Linked DNA regions of Homo sapiens: region 1 is linked to region 2. Evidence: promoter capture Hi-C in human tissues and cell types (Jung and others, 2019). All regions are on one chromosome and are shown on one strand. The core of a region is centred on a gene start or on the middle of the fragment in contact, and the rest is flanking DNA. Distances in the headings are between cores, read along the strand shown. Region 1 overlaps EEF2 (eukaryotic translation elongation factor 2). Region 2 holds the start of UBXN6 (UBX domain protein 6).

Evidence for each region. Contacts are between HindIII fragments. The study calls those that stand out against the background at their distance.
Region 1: a contact is called between a fragment that was not itself captured here and the fragment with the promoter of UBXN6 in region 2, in 1 of the 25 tissues and cell types used here (dorsolateral prefrontal cortex).

Annotation. Positions count from the first base shown.
Region 1 is chr19:3,978,586-3,982,983 of GRCh38, forward strand. EEF2 (eukaryotic translation elongation factor 2) reads right to left here. Exons shown (of 15, transcript NM_001961.4): 4 at 4,222-4,398; 5 at 3,661-3,839; 6 at 3,362-3,467; 7 at 2,754-2,867; 8 at 2,256-2,394; 9 at 1,929-2,124; 10 at 1,223-1,481; 11 at 744-851. SNORD37 (small nucleolar RNA, C/D box 37) reads right to left here and starts at 3,987; the gene lies at 3,922-3,987. RefSeq lists an enhancer at 2,888-3,739. The HindIII fragment of the contact is 5,039 bases long and covers 1-4,149 here.
Region 2 is chr19:4,456,047-4,460,437 of GRCh38, forward strand. It overlaps UBXN6 (UBX domain protein 6), which reads right to left and starts at 1,748. Exons shown (of 11, transcript NM_025241.3): 1 at 1,569-1,748. The coding sequence starts at 1,651. RefSeq lists silencers at 1,550-1,619, 1,650-1,699 and an enhancer at 1,810-2,009. The HindIII fragment of the contact is 9,046 bases long and covers 1-4,391 here.

The sequences.
Region 1 (4,398 bases), core at 380-2,879, 480 kb before region 2:
ACGAGGTCAGGAGATCCAGACCATCCTGGCTAACACGGTGAAACCCCGTCTCTACTAAAAATGCAAAAAATTAGCCGGGCATGATGGCAGGCGCCTGAAGTCCCAGCTACAGGAGGCTGAGGCAGGAGAATGGCGTGAACCTGGGAAGCAGAGCTTGCAGTGAGCCAAGATCACGCCATTGCACTCCAGCCTAAGCAACAGAGCAAGACTCTTGTCTCAAAAAAAAAAAAAAAAAAAAAAAAAAAATAGCCCTGGGCCAGGCATGGTGGCTCACACCTGTAATCCCAGCACTTTGGGAGGCCGAGGCAGGGGGATCACGAGGTCAGGAGATCGAGACCATCTTGACTTACTAACACAGTGAAACCCCGCCTCTACTAAAAATACAAAAAAAAATTAGCCGGGCGTGGTAGCACGCGCCTGTAGTCCCAGTTACTCAGGAAGCTGAGTGAGGCAAGAGAATCGCTTGAACCCGGGAGGTGGAGGTTCTAGCGAGCCAAGATCACGCCACTGCACTCCAGCCTGGATGACACAGCGAGACTATCTCAAAAAAAACAACAACAACAACAAAAACAGCCCCACATGCCTGTGGAAGACTGCAAAGAAGAAACTTGAGGAACTTAAGAAGCTGAGACCAAGACCGAGATCAAGTCTAGGCGTCTGCAGAGCCTAGCTCAGCTCAGCTTTAAAGCAGAGGGCAGGTGTCCGGGGTGGGGCGTGGGGAAGGCTGGTCACTGGCGCCTCACCTTGATGGGGATGCAGGCGTGGTCCTCCTCCAGGTCCTTCAGGCAGATCTCCAGGTGCAGCTCGCCGGCGCCCGCGATGATATGCTCTCCCGACTCCTCGATGATGCACTGAAAGGGATGCGGGTCAGCACCAAAGGGGTAGGCGGCTCGGAACAGGCGGGACCAGGCTCCCAGCTTCCCTTTAGCTAGGGACCCCGCCAGAACAAGATTTCAGGGAAGGTGCTGGGAAACTGGGACCAGCACAAACTCCTGAAGAAATGTTAAGTCCCACAAGCTACAGTGAACACGCGCAGAGCAGCCTAGGAGAGGGTGGTGGCTGCCTGGGCAGGAGTCTCCATTTACAGCCACAGCCAAGAACCCCTCCTTTCATGACCAGTCACCCCAATCCACCAACCACAGCAACCCACACAGCCACAACTCAGGACACAAGCCGTCCCCCCTCAGGGTGTCTGCTCCCAGCAGGTGCACTCCGTGCCCACCTGCACCATGGGGTCGGACTTGGCCAGCCGCTTCAGCCCCTCCACCAGCTTGGGCAGGTCAGCCGGGTTCTTGGCCTCCACGGCCACTCTGACAACAGGGCTGACGCTGAACTTCATCACCCGCATGTTGTGCGCGTGCTCGAAGGTGGTGATGGTGCCCGTCTTCACCAGGAACTGGTCCACGCCCACGAGGCCCACAATGTTCCCACAAGGCACATCCTCGATGGGCTCCACGTAGCGGCCCATCATCAAGATTGTTCTGGAAGAAGCAGAAGGCGGCAGCAGGCCGCAGGGATGGTTGTGCTGGACCCTGGAGGGCCAGGGCAGGTCCCTCCCGGAGTTGGTGGCCCTCCTGCCAGGTCCCAGGGCAGACTGGTGGCTTCCACAAGGCCCTGACTGCTGCGTCGGGGCTGTCAGGAAACATCCTCTTCAGAATCACTGCCCTCCTCCCTGGGTATGGGTCGACGGCCGCCACCCACCTGTGCCCAGGGACACAGATGAGCAGGGGTGTGCTGTGCCCTGGGGCTTGGAGCTTCTCCAGAAATGCCCTCACTGGGCTAAGAACAAAAGTTGTGGCTGGCACAAGTATCACCCTATATTCCTTCTATGCTCCTTACTTCTAGCTCCCGACTGAGGAGCCCAAGACTTGGAGCAGGGCAGGGCCCGCAACAGTGCCAAGGGGCCTGCACATCACCCAGCTGCTCACCTCTGGATTGGCTTCAGGTAGAGGTCCTCCTTCTTCCCAGGGGTATAGTTGGGCCCCATGATCCTGACCTTCAGGCCAGTGGAGACCAGCCCCGAGAAGACTCGTCCAAAGGCGTAGAACCGACCTTTGTCGGAGGTTGGCACCATTTTGGAAATATACATCATAAGAGGGCCTTTGGGGTCACAGCTTTTAATGCCTGAGGGACAGAGAAAACCCGCAAGCTTTATTCCAGTGCAGCTCAGCCTTCTGGAACCCTGCAACCCACAACCTTGGGCAACAGGAAGTCATCCGGCTGCATCTCAGGGCCCGGCCACCGGGACCACGTACCCATGGCAGCCTCGTCGTCCGGGGGCCCCTCGTACAGGAGCTCGCAGCGGTACTTCTGGGCCGTCACAGGGGAGGGCAGGTGGATGGTGATCATCTGCAACAAGGCGTCTCCGGCAGGCAGCCAGCGGCGCATCACAGCCTGCGGGGGCAGAGAGCGGTGCATGAGACACCTGGGGAGCCCAGGATGGCCCCACCCCGTACACGCTTCCTCTCTTGAAGCCAAGGAAGCCAAAGTCAGGACTAACGTTCTCCAAAGCACAGTCCCTTCTGGAAGGCGGCAAAGGCCATGCACACTCCTGCCAAGGCCCTCACCCACACCTGTCCCGGATGGGGCTGGCTGCTGGGATGTGTCTCCAGCAGCACCCAGAGTCTAAAGCGAAAGGGGCAGCAGCTGTCCCTGCCCAGCTGAGGACTTCAGCCCCCAGGCCTGGGCTGTCAGAGCATCCGGAAACAGCAGCCTGTGTTCCCTCCACCCCGAGGGCTGGGCCCAGGCCGCACCTTCAGCAGGGGTTTGCCTTCTTTGTCCTTGTCCTCGCTGTCCAGTTTGATGTCCAGTTTCTCTATCAGTTTTGCTGTCTCCTCTTTCTTGAAATTCATGATCGCATCAAACACCTACATTCCCCACCAAGAAACAAGAAAGCCCATTTGGGAACAGCAGGAGGAAGCCTGGCACTGCTTCCTGCTTGGAAGACTCAGGTCAGCGCAGGGGGACGCAGCACGGGAGCAGGAGCAGGCCTGGCCTGCCTACCACGGGCCCAGCCAGCTGAGCGGATCGGGAGCTGGAGGAAACCTCGTGGTGGAGCAGAGGAAAAAGCCCACTCTGACTCAGACAAGGACCCAAGTTCTGACTTACAAGCACTGAACCGCCAAAGCCACAAGTTATTCAACCCCCTCAATGCAGGAGAGGTCCCAAGGCTCTGGCTATGCAGTCCAGATCTTAAGAGAGGAGCCCTGACTCCACCTCAGTTAGGAGCTGTGCCTCCTCCCATCTCGCATCTGCCCCACAAGGAGACGGGCCCAGTCAGCCGACAGGCTACCGGCCGGAGCCCACAGGGCCGAGGGCCAATAGTCGCATCGGCGGGGTGCCTGGCGCAGCCCTCACTCACCTTGAAGATGGGGTCCAGGATCAGCTGGCAGAAGGTGCGTGGCAGCTTCTTCCCTTCGGGGCTGGTGGCTGACTTGCTGAACTTGCCGTTGGCTGGGTCAAAGTACCTGGCAAGGAGAGGCCAAGCCAAATCAAGTTAGGGTCTCCAGGGGATGACTTGGGGAGGGTGGTCGCCAAGGGGACATGCTTGGGCAAGACCTGGTGGGCTTGAGCCACGCTGTGAATAGCACACCACGCCCCTACGTCGCTGCCACTACCCCCAGGTGTCAGGAATCCCCCACCATATCCCGCGGGGCTCACCTGTCACCCCACAGCTTCTTCATCATGTCCTCTACTTTCTTGGCCCGCTCGGCAGGCCCCAACTGGCCCTCCCCCTTGGCGGCGAACTTGGCCACATACATCTCGGCAAACTGCTTCAGGGTGAAGGCCCACCCGTGGAGGCCAGACCCAAAGCCCACGGTACCGAGGACAGGATCGATCTGGAAGTGTGAGAAACGAGAAGCAGCCGTGAGGGCCCCTGCGCAGAGCCTGAAGCTACGGGCTGGGCGCCTTGGGCATGGGCCTCAGACGCAGGCTTTCTTCAGTAGACATCTGGTCAAAGTGAAGAAATGATCAGTCATCACGAATAGGGGGGCCAGCCCCTCCACCACCCAGGGCAGCGTTCCCTGAGCTCGTCTCTTCCAGCTGCCCAAAGATCAAGGGCTGGGTCAAGTCGGATGAAAACATTCCAGCCCCCTTCTCTGTCACCCAACATTCCTGGCAAAAACACACTTCCAGTCCCCCTCAGCTCAACTCCACTCCCCACCGGCTCCTGCAGATCCCGCTGCGGCAAGCCCACCACCCAGCTAGGGAGGGCCGTACCATGATGTTGCCCATGGGGCCGCTCTCGCCCTCGCCGTAGGTGGAGATGATGACGTTCACGTTCTCCACGATGCGCTGGAAAGTCTGGTAGAGCTCCTCGGGCTCCAGCTGCAGCTCCAGCAGGGCGCGGTCCATCTTGTTCATCATCAGCACAGGCTTGATGCGCTCGGCAATGGC
Region 2 (4,391 bases), core at 498-2,997:
ACCCCACACACCCTGGATATGCAGTCTCGCTCCACAAGGGACCTCCGCACCGCTTCCTTTCCCAACCTTCCCCTCCAACCTTCCCCTCTCCGCCCAGGCTCTGGGCTGATCCAGCCATCACCCCGATACCCTGCATCCTTCCTATCATGCCCAGTCCCAGTGGCCCCAGCACCCCCCACCCACTATTGGTTGAATCAATGAAGGGCTCCCCCGATTTGCCCCCTTCTCTCCCTGACCCCTCTCCCTCCCTCACTCAGCCTTTGCTCTCCTGCTCTCCCCCAGGAACCCTGACGTCCTCACTATGCCCCTACCTCCATCACCACCCCACTGCCCCGTGATTCCTGACCCCCACTTCCTGCCACCTCCCTGCCTCTCCCAGCCCCCACTCCCTCACAATCCCTTCCACTATTGCTTACAGACCCGTGTCCTGGCTGCCTGGCTGACTTCCTCAGTCCCTCTCCATCAGTCCCCACCACCCTCTGGCCAGCCAGCTCCCTGCAGCGGCCCCAGCTCTCCAGTTTCCCTTTTCTCAACCCAACAGCCCTCAGCCTTGCACCTTCCCTAGCTCCACTTCTTCCCCGGCCCTCCCAGCTGGCTCAGCCCTGCTCAGGCCCTTCTCTCCAAGTCCTCCCTAGACAATCCGGAAGCCTGCCCGGCATCTATCTCCTTTCCCCTCCTCTCCCACTTCCATAATCCACTTGGCACAGTGACGTGGCAGAGAAGCCTCGCAGAGAAGCTCTTTCTCCCAGCCTGCTAAGACGCGTCTGTCTCACCCGTCTTCTCCTCTCAGGCCCCTCCCGGGTAAGAGTCCATCTGTCAGAATCCCTCACCTCCACTCTCCTCACACACCTTCCTCAGCCCCTCCCTCTCAATTCGCCAGGACATCCCAGGTCACTGACGACGCTGCCCACCCCGGCCTCCCTGGCCTTCCAGACTCTTTCTAGTCTCCCATCAGCCTCCCACGTGCTCCAGATACCAAATCCAGAACCCCTCTTCCCATGGATACCTCAAAACAACTCTTCACCACCCCACCCCACAGCTGTGCGTCCTCCTCCAAGCTCAGCTCCCATCCATGGTCACCTAGATTGCCCCAAATCATCCCGGCCTCTTCGGCCAGCCGGGTCCCCAGACAGAGCTCTCCCTCACCACCCGGCTCAGGACTCATGATCCCGTTTTTCCCCAAAGGTCGTTCCACTGACCCCCAACTGCCTACAGCCCCGTCGCCCTAATCCCCCGCCACTGCATCGGACCCTCCTGCGGCCCCGCCCCCGAGACCTCCCCTCCCGCCCCGCCCCCTGCGCTAGTTCCCCTCCCCTCGCCTCCCCCGCCGCGCCCCCGGGTCATACCCGCCCCCTCCTGCCCCGCCCCCAGATCTCTCTCCCCTCCCCCTGACGCCCACCCTCGGCCCGACTTCGTCCGCCCCCGGCGCCTCTCCCCCTCCCCTGACCCTCGCGTGCCGCTCCCAGCCCCTCATCCTCTCCGATCTCCCGAGCCGCCCAAGGCCCCAGATCTCTCTCCCCGGCCGTCCCCGCCCCGCAGGGCCTCAAGCCCCTGCGTTCCTCACGCACCCCACGGACTCTTTGAGCTTCTGACCGGGTCCCGCGCTCTTGAACTTGATGTCGGCCTTGAACTCCTGAAAGAATTTCTTCATGGTGGCGGCTGGCCCGGCGGCGGGGGGCCGCGGGGGCGGGGGGGCACGGGGCCCAGTCGGGGACGGGGCCGCCGGAGACCAGCCACCGGAAGAAAATTAAAAAAAAAAAAAAAAAAAAAAAAAAAATTTACCTCGCCGCCGGAAGTCCCGCCTTCCCCTGGCCTGCCACGTGACAATCGACTAGACGTGCCTCTCTAGCGCTCGGTGCCTTGCTGGCCCAGGGCGGCCGCTCTGTACGCTGGAGCCGCGTCTCTGTGGTTCTTCCGGACTCCGTTGCCAGGGCGACGAGTGCACCTCTCGATTGGAGACAGGGCATTCCGTGGCGCTCCCCAAACGGTGACAAACGGTGATAGGACAGGGACAGGCCAACTGAACCTCGCAGAGAAAGCACTGGGCCCTATCCCTTTCGCTGCTCAACCTAAACTAGGCGCGGTGGCTCACGCCTGCAATCACAGCACTTTGGAGGCTCAAGCGGAAGGATTGCTTGATCCCAGAAGTTGGAGACCAGCCTGGCAACATGGCAAAACCTCGTCTCTATAAAAAAAAAAAAAATAAAATAAAATAAATTAGCCGAGGGTGGTGGCGCGCGCCTCTCAGCTACTTGGGAGGCAGAGGCGGGAGGATCGCTTGAACCCAAGAGGTCGAGGCTGCAGTGAGCTGTGATCAAGCCACTGCATTCCAGCCTGGGCGACAGAGAGAGACCCTGTCTCAAGCAAAACAAAAAAAATTCCAACCTTCTCTGTCTCCCCAGAGCTTACGTGATAAAATCCCAATTCAATGTTGGGTATTGGAGGCCCCCACGATCTGGCCTGTTTTGGTGCCTGAAGCACCCCCCCGCCACCATCACCACGTACCCTAGGTAGGAGCTGTTTAAGAGGATGCACCTGGGCCGGGCGCGGTGGCTCATGCCTGTAATCCCAGCACTTTGGGAGGCCGAAGCGGGCGGATCACAAGGTCAGGAGATCGAGACCATCCTGGCTAACACGGTGATACCCCGTCTCTACTAAAAATACAAAAAATTAGCCGGGCATGGTGGCAGGCGTCTGTACTCACAGCTACTCGGGAGGCTGAGGCAGGAGAATGGCGTGAACCCGCGAGGCGGAGCTTGCAGTGAGCCGAGATCTCACCACTGCACTCCAGCCTGGGCGACAGAGCGAGACTCCGTCTCAAAAAAAAAAAAAAAAAAAAAAAAAGAGGATGCACCCAATGCACCCAATTGGGACCTGGGGATTGGGGATCCACTTTGGTGGACACCAGTTAATAGTGGCGTACTTTGGTCTGTGCAATCCACAAAGAAGATACACAAAGTGACAGTTAAAACAAGCCTCAAAAAATGGGAGTTGGGGGTCAGACGTGGTGGCTCATGCCTCTAATCCCAGCACTTTGGGAGGCCGAGGCCGGCGGATCACTTGAGGTCAGGAGTTTGAGACCAGCCTGGCCAACATGGTGAAAGCCTGTCTCTATGGGCACCGGTAATCCCAGCTACTCGGGAGGCTGAGGCAGGAGAATCGCTTGAACCCGGCAGGTGGAGGTTGCAGTGAGCCGAGATCTCGCCATTGCACTTCAGCCTGGGCAACAGAGGGAGACTCTGCCTCAAAAAAGAAGGAGTTGGAATGAGATACACAGAGACTGATGGAGGAGAAGCCTCCAGGTGAGGAAACAGCCCACCCCAAGACTGAAATTGAAATATCATGGGTTGGACGGGTGGCTCAGGCCTGCAGTCCCAACATTTTGGGAGGCCAAGGTGGGAGGATTGCTTTAGCCCAGGAATTGGAGGCTGCAGTAAGCTAGGATCACGCCACTGCACTCCAGCCTGGGCAACAGAGCCAGACCCTGTCTTATTAAAAAAAGAAAAAAAGGCCAGGCACGGTGGCTCATGCCTGTAATCCCAGCCCTTTGGAAGGCCGAGGCGGGTGGATCACGAGGTCAGGAGATTGAGACCATCCCGGCTAATACGGTGAAACCCTGTCTTTACTGAAAATAATTTTTAAAAAAATTAGCCAGCCTTGGTGGCGGGCGCCTGTAGTCCCAGCTACTTGGGAGGCTGAGGCAGGAGAATGGCGTGAACCCAGGAGGCAGAGCTTACAGTGAGCCGAGATCATGCCACTGTGCTCCAGCCTGGGCAACAGAGCAAGACTCCGTTTCAAAAAAAAAAAAAAAAGGAAAAGAATTGGGCCAGGTGCGGTGGCTCACACCTGTAATCCCAGCACTTTGGGAGGTCAAGGCGGGTGGATCACTTAAGGTCAGAAGTTCAAGACCGACCTGGCCAACATAGCAAAACCCCGTCTCTATTAAAAATACAAAAATCAGCCGGGTGTGGTGGTGTGTGCCAGTAATCCCAGCTACTTGAGAAGCTGAGGCAGCAGAATCACTTGAACGCAGGAGACAGAGGTTGCAGTGAGCTGAGATTGCACCACTGCACTCCAGCCTGGGCGACAGAGCGAGACTCTGTCTCAAAAATAAATAAATAAAGTAAAAAAATAAATAAATAAAAGAAGAATACAGTGCAACCCAAACTTCAATCTTTCTGATCTCCAGTCTCCTATCTATGAAATGGGGATAAGAATAACACTCTCTATAGATTGTAGGGGTGATCATGTGATTAGAAAGTTCTCAGTATGCCGGGCACGGTGGCTCATGCCTGTAATCCCAGCTACTCAGGAGGCTAAGGCAGGAGAATCACCTGAACTTGGGAAGCAGAGGTTGCAGTGAGCCGAGACTGCGCCACTGCAATCCAGCT